Linked DNA regions of Homo sapiens: all the other regions are linked to region 2. The links are contacts of gene promoters, found by promoter capture Hi-C in blood cells and fetal thymus (Javierre and others, 2016). All regions are on one chromosome and are shown on one strand. The core of a region is centred on a gene start or on the middle of the fragment in contact, and the rest is flanking DNA. Distances in the headings are between cores, read along the strand shown. Region 1 has its middle 46 kb from the start of FAM136A. Region 2 holds the start of ATP6V1B1-AS1 (ATP6V1B1 antisense RNA 1). Region 3 has its middle 19 kb from the start of FAM136A.

The links. The method cuts DNA at HindIII sites, captures the fragments that hold promoters and counts their contacts. A CHiCAGO score of 5 or more calls a contact.
Region 1: a contact is called between a fragment that was not itself captured here and the fragment with the promoter of ATP6V1B1-AS1 in region 2, in 4 of 17 cell types (M2 macrophages, M0 macrophages, M1 macrophages and 1 more). The highest score is 8.0, in M2 macrophages.
Region 3: a contact is called between a fragment that was not itself captured here and the fragment with the promoter of ATP6V1B1-AS1 in region 2, in 16 of 17 cell types (M2 macrophages, M1 macrophages, M0 macrophages and 13 more). The highest score is 14.9, in M2 macrophages.

The regions. Positions count from the first base shown.
Region 1 is chr2:70,346,632-70,349,889 of GRCh38, forward strand. It overlaps the pseudogene BRD7P6. Among named protein-coding and RNA genes, the nearest start is that of FAM136A, 46 kb to the left of the region's middle. The HindIII fragment of the contact is 1,057 bases long and covers 853-1,909 here.
Region 2 is chr2:70,947,182-70,950,216 of GRCh38, forward strand. ATP6V1B1-AS1 (ATP6V1B1 antisense RNA 1) reads right to left here and starts at 1,430. Exons shown (of 2, transcript NR_110274.1): 1 at 1,046-1,430. All of the region lies in intron 2 of ATP6V1B1 (ATPase H+ transporting V1 subunit B1), which reads left to right. The HindIII fragment of the contact is 10,354 bases long and covers 1-3,035 here.
Region 3 is chr2:70,319,685-70,322,937 of GRCh38, forward strand. No RefSeq gene overlaps it. Among named protein-coding and RNA genes, the nearest start is that of FAM136A, 19 kb to the left of the region's middle. The HindIII fragment of the contact is 2,430 bases long and covers 523-2,952 here.

The sequences.
Region 1 (3,258 bases), core at 131-2,630, 600 kb before region 2:
CTGGGACCTGCCCTGTTATCCAACCCTATGCTCTCTCTTCCTGGTGGAGGCTCCAGAATTTCTGGATCACTGGATTTAGGGGATGCAATCCAGCTGGAAGAGAGTGGAACAGAGTTAGGGAACTTGTCTTGAAGCTGCAATTGCAGGGTTTTGCACCGAGTGTTTTAGGAGGTGGCTTGTGTGGGGTGGTGGTGAGGGGGTGCTGATGAGATTTTAGAGGAAGGTTTTGAGCCTGGGCACTGCTACTGGCTTCCCCTTTTGTTAGAACCTGGCCATGCCTCTGAACATGGCTTCTCTTCTCTCTGTGGACTGACAGCACCTGAGGGAGGGCAGGGAACAACCAGGGAGGCCCCAGCATGGGAACAGAGAAGAGAGACAGGCAGCCCTGCCTGTACCAGGGACCTCTTGAAGACTGTGTGGATGGTCCCTGACTTAGGATTGTTTGATTTAGGATTTTTTGACTTTAGATGGTACAAAAGTGATACACATTCAGCAGAAACTGTACTTTGAGTTTTTGGAATTGGGCTACATTTGTTGATATTGTTTTTTCTATTGCAATTAAGTCTAATAGAAGAGATGTTATATTTTGGTTGCAGTGAGGTTTGAATATGATATCATGTGGTGTATTGTAATGGGAAGAAACCTAATATGTTGAAGAATTTATATGTGTGTGAAGGGGATTCAAGTTTGAGATTATTAGTCATAAGATTAAGTTCCACTGCTACTGTAAATCCTAGAATGCTTATGCCAAGGGCTTTAAGTTTTAGTTTAGTTTAACACAACCATTCTGTTTTCCAACTTCAGTATAGTATTCAATAAATTACATGAGATATTTAACACTATTATAAAATAAGCTTTGTGTTCAATGATTTGCTCAACTGTAGAGTAATGTAAGTGTTCTGAGGACTTTTAAGGTAGACTAGGCTAAGCTCTGATGTTCAGTAGGTTAGGCATATTCAATGCATTTTGGATTTTTAGTACTTTCAACTTATGGTGGGTTTATCAGGATGTAACCCCATTGTAAATCAAGGTGCATCTATATGTGAAAGAAAGTTAGTAGAGAGCCCTGTTCATCTACCAAGTCCTGCAGTGAGGACCAGGGGTGGGGTTGGGAGTGGTGCTCTGCAGGAAGCAGGAAATCACCCTCTCCAGTTACCTGGGGGCAGGGGAGCTGGGGATGAAGTCTGTATTGCTGCTATAATAAATTACTGTAAATTTAGTAGTTTAAAACAACACAAATTTATTATCTTACAGTTCTGAAGATCAGAAGTCTAAAATCAATCTCACTGGGCTAATGTCAAGGGACAAAAGGGCTGATTCCTTCTGGAGGCTCTAGGGGATCTTTTTCCTTGTTTTTACAGCTGCTGGAGGCCACCTGCATTCCTTGGCCCATGCTCCCTTCCTCCATTGTCAAAGCCAGCAAAGGTAGCATCTGCCAATATGACTTCTGCTTCCATAATCACATGTTCTTCTATGACTCTGACCTTCCTGCCTTTGTCTTATAAAGAACCTTATGATTATTTTGGGCCCACCCAGATAATCCAGGATAACCTCCCCATCTCAAAATCCTTAATTTATTCACGTCCACAAAGTCCCTTTTACCAGGTACGATAACATATTCACAGGTTCTGAGGATTAGGACATGGACATTTTTGGAAAGTCTTATTCTGCCTACCACAAAGGCCAAATTCAGAAGGTGAAGAGTGTGTGGTTGGGACACAGGTGTAGGAATTGTTATGTCTATTTGACTAGAACTCCCTCTTCATAAGATTGCCTTGAGTCAAAGAGAGCTGCCAGCCAGAGGACAAAGGAGTTTAAAGGGTTTTTCCTCTATCAGAAGGAGTCCTTTCTGGGCGGTGGTGCTTTTGCCTCTCTGGTGACCTGGGACGAATGTCAAATGCCACAGCAAAGCTTGGAAATATTGCCCAGGTGTTACGACTCTCTACATATATGTTCCAAAAAAGTCTTCAGATGACAAATTAAGATTGACTTAGAAAACTCAGTAGTGGTCCTAAACATCTTAAATAACAGAATTATAATTAAAAATACATCATTTCCTATATTCTACTTTCACCAAATGATATGTACAATCATTTCCTATATCTTTATGTTCACCAAAAACATATTCAGAGTAACACCATTTGCATTAGCCCCAAACAGCTTCCCAAATGCCCACCAATGGTAGAATGGATAAACTGACAGAAGACTGGTGTAATCAATGGAATTCAAAACAGCAGTGAGAACGAACCAACAACTGCATCCAATATGAAAAAATATCAAACAGAATGTTAAGAGATCAGCTTTAAAAAAAAAAGCACATTTTCTATGATTTATATCAAATCCCAAACCAGGGAAAACCAATCATGGTGTTAGAAGTCAGGGCAGTTACTCTTGATGAGGGGGAAAGGTGGTGAACAGCTACTGGAGGAAGGTACAAGTGGGCTTCTGGGATGTTAGTAAGGTTCTGTGTTTCTGTTTGCTAGTTTTATGGATGTGTTAGGTTTGCAAAAATTCATCAAGTTGGACATTTGTGATTTGTGCACTTTGCCATATGAATGCTATACCTCAATATAAAGTTAGAAATATATGTATACTATTTCCAACAGCAACAAAAACTATGAATCCAGTAATAAGTCTAACAAGCAGATATGCAAAACCTTTATGGAAGACATCAAAGAAGACCTAAAAACATGGAGAACGTGGTAGTTAATTTAAAGTGTCAACCTGGCTGGGCTATGGTACCCAGTTATTGGCTCAAACAGTGATCTAGATGTTGCTAGGAAGGTATTTTTTCATATTAGGTTAACACTGAAATCAGGAGATATTGAGGAAAGCAGATTATTCTCCATACTGTGGGTGGCCTCAGAGAAAAGATGGCCGTCTCTGTGAGAGGAAGGAATTCTGCTTCCAGACTACCTCAGGATTCAAGACTGCAACATCAATTTCTGCTGAAATTTCCAGGCTGCTGGCCTGCCCTACAGATTTTGGACTTGCAAGCCCCACAACTGTGTGAGCCAATTCTTTAAAATCTCTCTCTCTACACCCACACACACACACACGCACACACACACACACACACACACACACACACCCTGTATTGGTTCTGTTTTTCTGGAGACTGTAGACTAATACAGAGAGATATACTATAGTCATAAATGGTAACAATTCTCCCCGAAATTATAAATTTAATGTAATTCAACTAAAACTTTCAGTAGGAGGTTTCATGAAACTTGACAAAATTAGTATTAAAAAGGTTAA
Region 2 (3,035 bases), core at 180-2,679:
ATGCATGAATGTGCCTGTGCATTTTTCTGGTAGGAGTTTCTACAGTTTCGTCTGATTTTTCAGGGTTCGTGACCCAGAAAAGTCTAACTCTCTGATTTGTATAAGTTGAACAAGCATCAGAATATCAGGGGTGCAGGGGGCTTGTTAACAGGCAGATTGCTAGGCCCCACCCCAGAGCTCTGATTCAGCATGCCTGGGGTAGGAGGCCCAAGAATGTACATTTCTATCAAGTTCCTAGGTGATGCTGCTGGTATGGGGACCACACGGAGAACCTCTGTTCTAGAGAATCTTCTGACTCCTGTAGTCTGTGATTCAAATTGGTCCCTGTTTGAGAATTGGAGTAAGCACTCACCTTAACCACCAGACTCCATCCCCAATGTCTGTGGCTGCTTTCAAAAGAGTCTGCATCAGCTCTGAAGACAATTTCCAAAGAGGAGCCTCCGCACTGCCCTGGCCATTGTCAGCAGGAGGGACCTTAGAGGCAGCATTCCTGTGCACAAATCCCGACAGGCTTGCTAAGAACTTCCAGTCCTCCGTGTGTAGACAGCAGCTCCCCTGTGCCTGGCCACTTGCTGGTTGAGAGCTCAGTTGAATCTCCAGCACGGGGTTACATTGCACTGAGTCATGCCCTCTTCCTGCAGCCCTCTTAGTAACCGACATCAACCGAGTTGATGGGATCAGGCCTGCTCAGTATGCGGCTGGGAAATAGGGCCCCTTAAGATACAAGCTCCTGGACTAGCTATCCCCCACGGGAATTCTCCCAGGTACCCACTGCCATAACTGGTCATGAGATCCCACCACCAACAACAATAACGACGAACATCCAGCACACACTTAGAGCCTGGGGCTCTTCCTAAAGGTTCCAGACACTACACCCTCCATGCCTGAGTGTGAAAACCTGATGGCCCTTCCCCAGATCTGACCACAATTTCTGCCATTTAAAGTTCATTTTCTCTGATTTTGTCCTTCAGGGACACAGAACGCACCACTCTCCTCTCCACTCTCCTCTCCTGCCACCCTCCCTCTCTCACCCACATAAACTCACATGAAAATGATCACTTTTTTTTTTTCTTTTTGAGACGGAGTCTTGCTCTGTCGCCAGGCTGAAGTGCAATGGCACGATCTCTGCTCACTGCATCCTTCTTCTCCCGGGTTCAAGCGATTTTCCTGCCTCAGCCTCCCGAGTAGCTAGGACTACAGAAAATGATCACTTTTAAATCACTCCACCGCCTGATTTCTTTGGGGCACACTCTGGCCTGTGTTCTGTACAGCAACTTTTCCCCTGAGGTTGAAACAGCCCTCCGTCACCTCCAGGGAGATGACAAATAATGAGGCAGGGCCCGTTTCGTATCGAAACACAGGTTATCAGAGTGGGAGAGGAAAACGAGCCGGGACGTGTGTTCCACGCGTTTCCCAGGCCCTCGCTGTCCGTGCTCCTGGGCTCCCTCTTGTGGTTGAGAACCCAAGACGCCTGGGTGTTCGGAGCTCCTCCCACCTCGGAGCCCTCCTCCCCGGCCGGCCTAGTGCTGAAGCCCCCACTCCGCAAGGCTGAGGGGTGGTTTGGGGAACCACAGGTCACCTTCCTGGCATCCTCTTCACAGGACAAGGGAGGACTCAAGGTAGCGCTCCCTTCCGTGTGATTGTCAGGGCTGCAAACCTAGTCTCAAGTTCGACCAGCAGGGGTTCCCTGGCGGAGTGGTCCCTACTTGGTCACACCTTGCTGGGGAATTGGACCCTCCGCCCCAACCCGCAAGCCCTTAAGGTCACTAGTTTGTGGCCAGTAGGTGATATAACGATAGTAATGATGATGATAATCACCAGCACTGTGCTGTAACATGTCCTAAAAATGTATTATATTTTAATTGCAAAAATAATACATGCTCCTTGTAACTTAGTGAAAAAGAGGAAAGACACGTAAAGTTAACTATCTGCCCCTAACCGCTTTATTCTCAGCCCCGAAAGACCCTGCTGAATACGCTCAAACACAGGCAAATATGTTAGAGGTTGACCTCGGGGTCAGTCCCTTGAGAGCCAAGGGACTGACAGTGGATCCACTGACAGTGTCAGCGGATACACATTTTACGCATTCTTTTGGATACTGGCATAGCAGGCGATAGTATGGATGTACTGTAACTTACTCAATAGTCCCATTATTGACAGACATTCGTATGTTCTCAGGTTTTGCCATTACAAATAGTACAATATTGTATCCCTTTTAAACGGACGCTTTTGTGGTTATAGGATAGATTCCCAGAAGTGGAATTGCTGGTTCAAGTACTTTTTTATTTCAAATTAGATATTGACAATTTGGGGCAAGATGGCTTGCCCAGAAGGGTTGTGGTAATTCACATTTCCACCAACCAGGTATGAGAGGACCCACTTCCCCACATCCTTGCTGGCCCTGAATATGTTCTCTCTGTAGTTTTACCTATCTAATAAATGAAAACTAGTACTGTCTCGCTTTTATTTACATTTCTCTGATAACTAGGAAAGTTGAGTGTCTGTCCATATGTTTACCATTTTGATTTTGCTTCCTTCTCCGTGAAATCTTCCTACCAAGCAAGTTGTGCATACGGGAGCTCCTTGTTTATTGCTCACAGGCTATCTTTTGCAACAATAAATGAAACAAAGATTTCATCTATTGTGTCTCTGCCATACAGAAGTTTGAAATACTCATATGATCAAATATTTTTTGTTTATACCTTCTGAATTTCTTGTCTTGCTTAAAGACATTGCTCATCTGTCTTTTAATTGGATTATTCAGAAAGATAGGAAAGAAGAAAAGCTCTTCCAGTATTTTTTAAAAATTGTTTTTACTTTATATTTAAATTTTTTTTACATGCCTGGAATGTATTTGGGTTTATGATGTGGTTATCTTCTAACTAGATATCCTCTTATGTTCTATATATTATTTCCCCTCTGAGAATTAATTAATATACAACATTTGTTCTATAATAGTCCTATAAAATCTGGGATCTCCTTCTGGACTTTTTTTCTTTCCTACTGATCCATTTGTCTACCTCATATCAATTTAC
Region 3 (3,253 bases), core at 488-2,987, 630 kb before region 2:
AAAATGAGGGAAGCTGCATCCTGGATTGTCACTTAGAGACAGCAGGCAGGCTTGCTGCAAGTCTGATTTGTAGTGGTCTGGTCTCCTAGCTTGTTTATTGTGGATGAAGGGGTTGGTTTCCCGGCGGGCTGCTGCCGGTTGCAGGGTGGCATCTCATCTCCCATATGTGCTATTCCATTTTTGGACCTTGTCAACCTACACTAGGTACTTCCCTGGTTGCTTCATGCCCTCTCAGTACCGCACACTCAATGGAGCGAGTGTGAGTGGCGGTTGTTGATGGAAAGTTTGAGGCAACAAGAGAAGTCATACAGCATCACGGCACAGCAAACAGCTTTAACTTGAACATAGGATTGTGTGGTTCAGAAAGGCCTCAGCGATTCCTGCTTCTGTGGAGAAGAACATTCTACTCACTATGAGGTTTGGCCTTTCTTTCCTCCACCCTTATCGTATCTTCCTTTCTGGATCCAGTCTCCCAGGCTTCTTTGTGTGTTTTCCTTTCACCTGTCCAGCCCAAGTCCTAGAAGCTTCACTTTTATATTCAAGTTAAGTAAAAGAACTCATTTCTCCTCAGGCAGAACTCTGTCTCTATATCTTAGAATAATACACATGTACACACAAATACACATATTTCTCTCTCTGCTACACAAATGTTTTAAAAATTAGTCTGCCTGATAAGCACATAGGCATTGGCTGTATTAGTCTCTGTGTTTACTTTCCTGTGTGCTCGAAAATATTTCAAAATAAAAAATTAAAAGGAAAATGAATGGAGAAGACTGGGGATGTCATGATCAATGCTGGACATAGGGGAAATAGCTCCGTTGGTACACAGAGTCTCATTTATTTATTTACAAACGTCTGGCTTACGATGTGCCGGGCATTATTCTAGGTGCTTTGGAAATATGTCTTCAAATCCTCATTCTAATCCTATGGTATTATTATTATTGTCTGCATTTTACAGATGAGGAAACAGAAAAGTTAAGCACCTTACACAAGGTCATGTGTTTGCAAGTAGTAAAGCCAGGATTCAAACCCAGGCTGTCTGGCTCCAGAGGCCATACCTGTAACCACCATGCCTTCCTGCTTCTTGACAAGTGTCCCTTGTAGGCCAGTGGGATTCAAGGGCAGTGGGGACTCAGGGGGCAGTAACAAAGCAGCAAGCTCTTAGTAACTTTTTTTTTTTTTTTTTGAGACAGGGCACACTCTGTCACCCAGGCTGGAGTGCAGTGGCACGATCTAGGCTCACTGCAACCTCCACCTCCCGGGTTCAAGTGATTCTCATGCCTCAGCCTCCCTAGTAGCAGGGATTACAGGCAACTGCCACCATGTCCGGCTAATTTTTTGTTTTGTTTTGTTTTTTGAGATGGGGTCTTGCTCTGTCGCCCAGGCTGGAGTGCCGTGGCGCAGTCTCGGCTCAGTGCAAGCTCTGCCTCCCGGGTTCACGCCATTCTCCTGCCTCAGCCTCCTGAGTAGCTGGGACTACAGGCGCCCGCCACCACGCCCACCTACTTTTTTGTATTTTTAGTAGAGATGGGGTTTCACTGTGGTCAGGATGGTCTCGATCTCCTGACCTCGTGATCTGCCCGCCTCGGCCTCCCGAAGTGCTGGGATTACAGGTGTGAGCCACCGCGCCTGGCCAATTTTTGTATTTTTAGTAGAGACGAGGTTTCACCATGTTGGCTAGGCTGGTCTCGAACTCCCGTCCTCAAGTGATCTGCCTGCCTCAGCCTGCAAAGTGCTGGGATTACAGGCGTGAGCCACCATGCCCCATCTCTTAGTAGTTTTTGAGGAGCAGTTTAGAGTGTCAGCAAAGTTCTTCACAGATCCAAGAGTTGTTAGCTGATGTAATCCGGCTGGATGAGGGAGGTAGAGAGGAAGGCAAGAGGTGGCGGGTGGCTGAGGGCTGCTTGCGTAACATCTTGACTGTGGCAGCAGACACAGTGGAGGTTGTGAGATTTGTTATGGATGTTAAGAAGGGCTAAAGAGCCACTAGGTGATCATAGCTCACTGTAGGCTGGGTTCAGTGGCTCATCTCTGTAATCCTCAGCACTTTGGGAGGTTGAGGCAGAAGGATCACTTGAGCCCAGGAGCTTGAGGCTGCAGTGAGCTATGATTGTGCCACTGCACTGAAGCCTGGGCAACAGAGTGAGACCCTGTCTCTTAAAAAAAAAAAAAAAAGCTCACGATAACCTTAAACTCCTGGGCTCAAGTGATCCTCCAGGCACAGCCTCCCTAGTAGCTAGGACTACAGACACATACCACTATGCTCAGCTAATTTTTAATTTTTTTGTAGAGACAGGGTCTCACCTCGTTGTCCAGGCTTGCATTGCATTGTTCTTTTTTCTTTTTTTCTTTTTTTTTTTTTTTGAGACAGAGTCTTGTTCTGTCACCCAGGCTGGAGAGCAGTGGCACCATCTCTGCTCACTGCAACCTCCACCTTCCAGGTTTAAGCGATTCTCTGGCCTCAACCTCCCAAGTAGCTGGGATTATAGGTGTGTGCCACCATGCCTGGCTAATTTTTGTTATTTTCAGTAGAGATGGGGTTTTGCCACGTTGGCCAGGCTGGTCTTGAACTCCTGACTTTGGGTGATCCACCCATCTTGGCCTCCCAAAGTGGTGGGATCACAGGTGTGAGGAGGCTTGCCTTGTTCTTTAAAGTCAAGAAAACATAGTTTCTAGGAAATGGAAAAAAAAGATAATGAGATAATAGAAATGAAGATGGATCTGCCTAATGGAGTACATAAAGAGGAAGGAAGATGAAATAAAAAGGAAAGAACACTTTGAAATGAAATGTGGTAGTGGTTTCCATAGTACTTAATGTTTTAGAAGTGGGGATCTTATGGGAAAATCTAGGTTTCAGTTAAGACAAGGAGGTGAAGGAAACCTTAGTAGAAAGGTTGGCAGTATGGGGGCATTTATTACACTCAAAACTAATTCTGGTGGGCATGGTGGAAAAGCTTGAGACAGAAACAGAAGGAAGTTGAGTCAGGGCATGGAAACCCTGAGTGCTATGATGATGAAAATACCAGAGGTGGTAGACGGCCAGAGAGCCTTGTGTTACAGAGTCATGTGTGTGGGGCAGGGTGAGTTTAATTGGCTACTCAGGTAGGACACAAACCAGCTAAGGCTCTGGAAGTACACATGCACTTTTCACCAGGAACATATCCCGCTGGTGTGTGTGCAGCAAAGTACAGCCATTGTTAAGAGACACTCAAAACAAAAGCAACCCAGAAAGGCTACAAATAAGAGGGCAGCC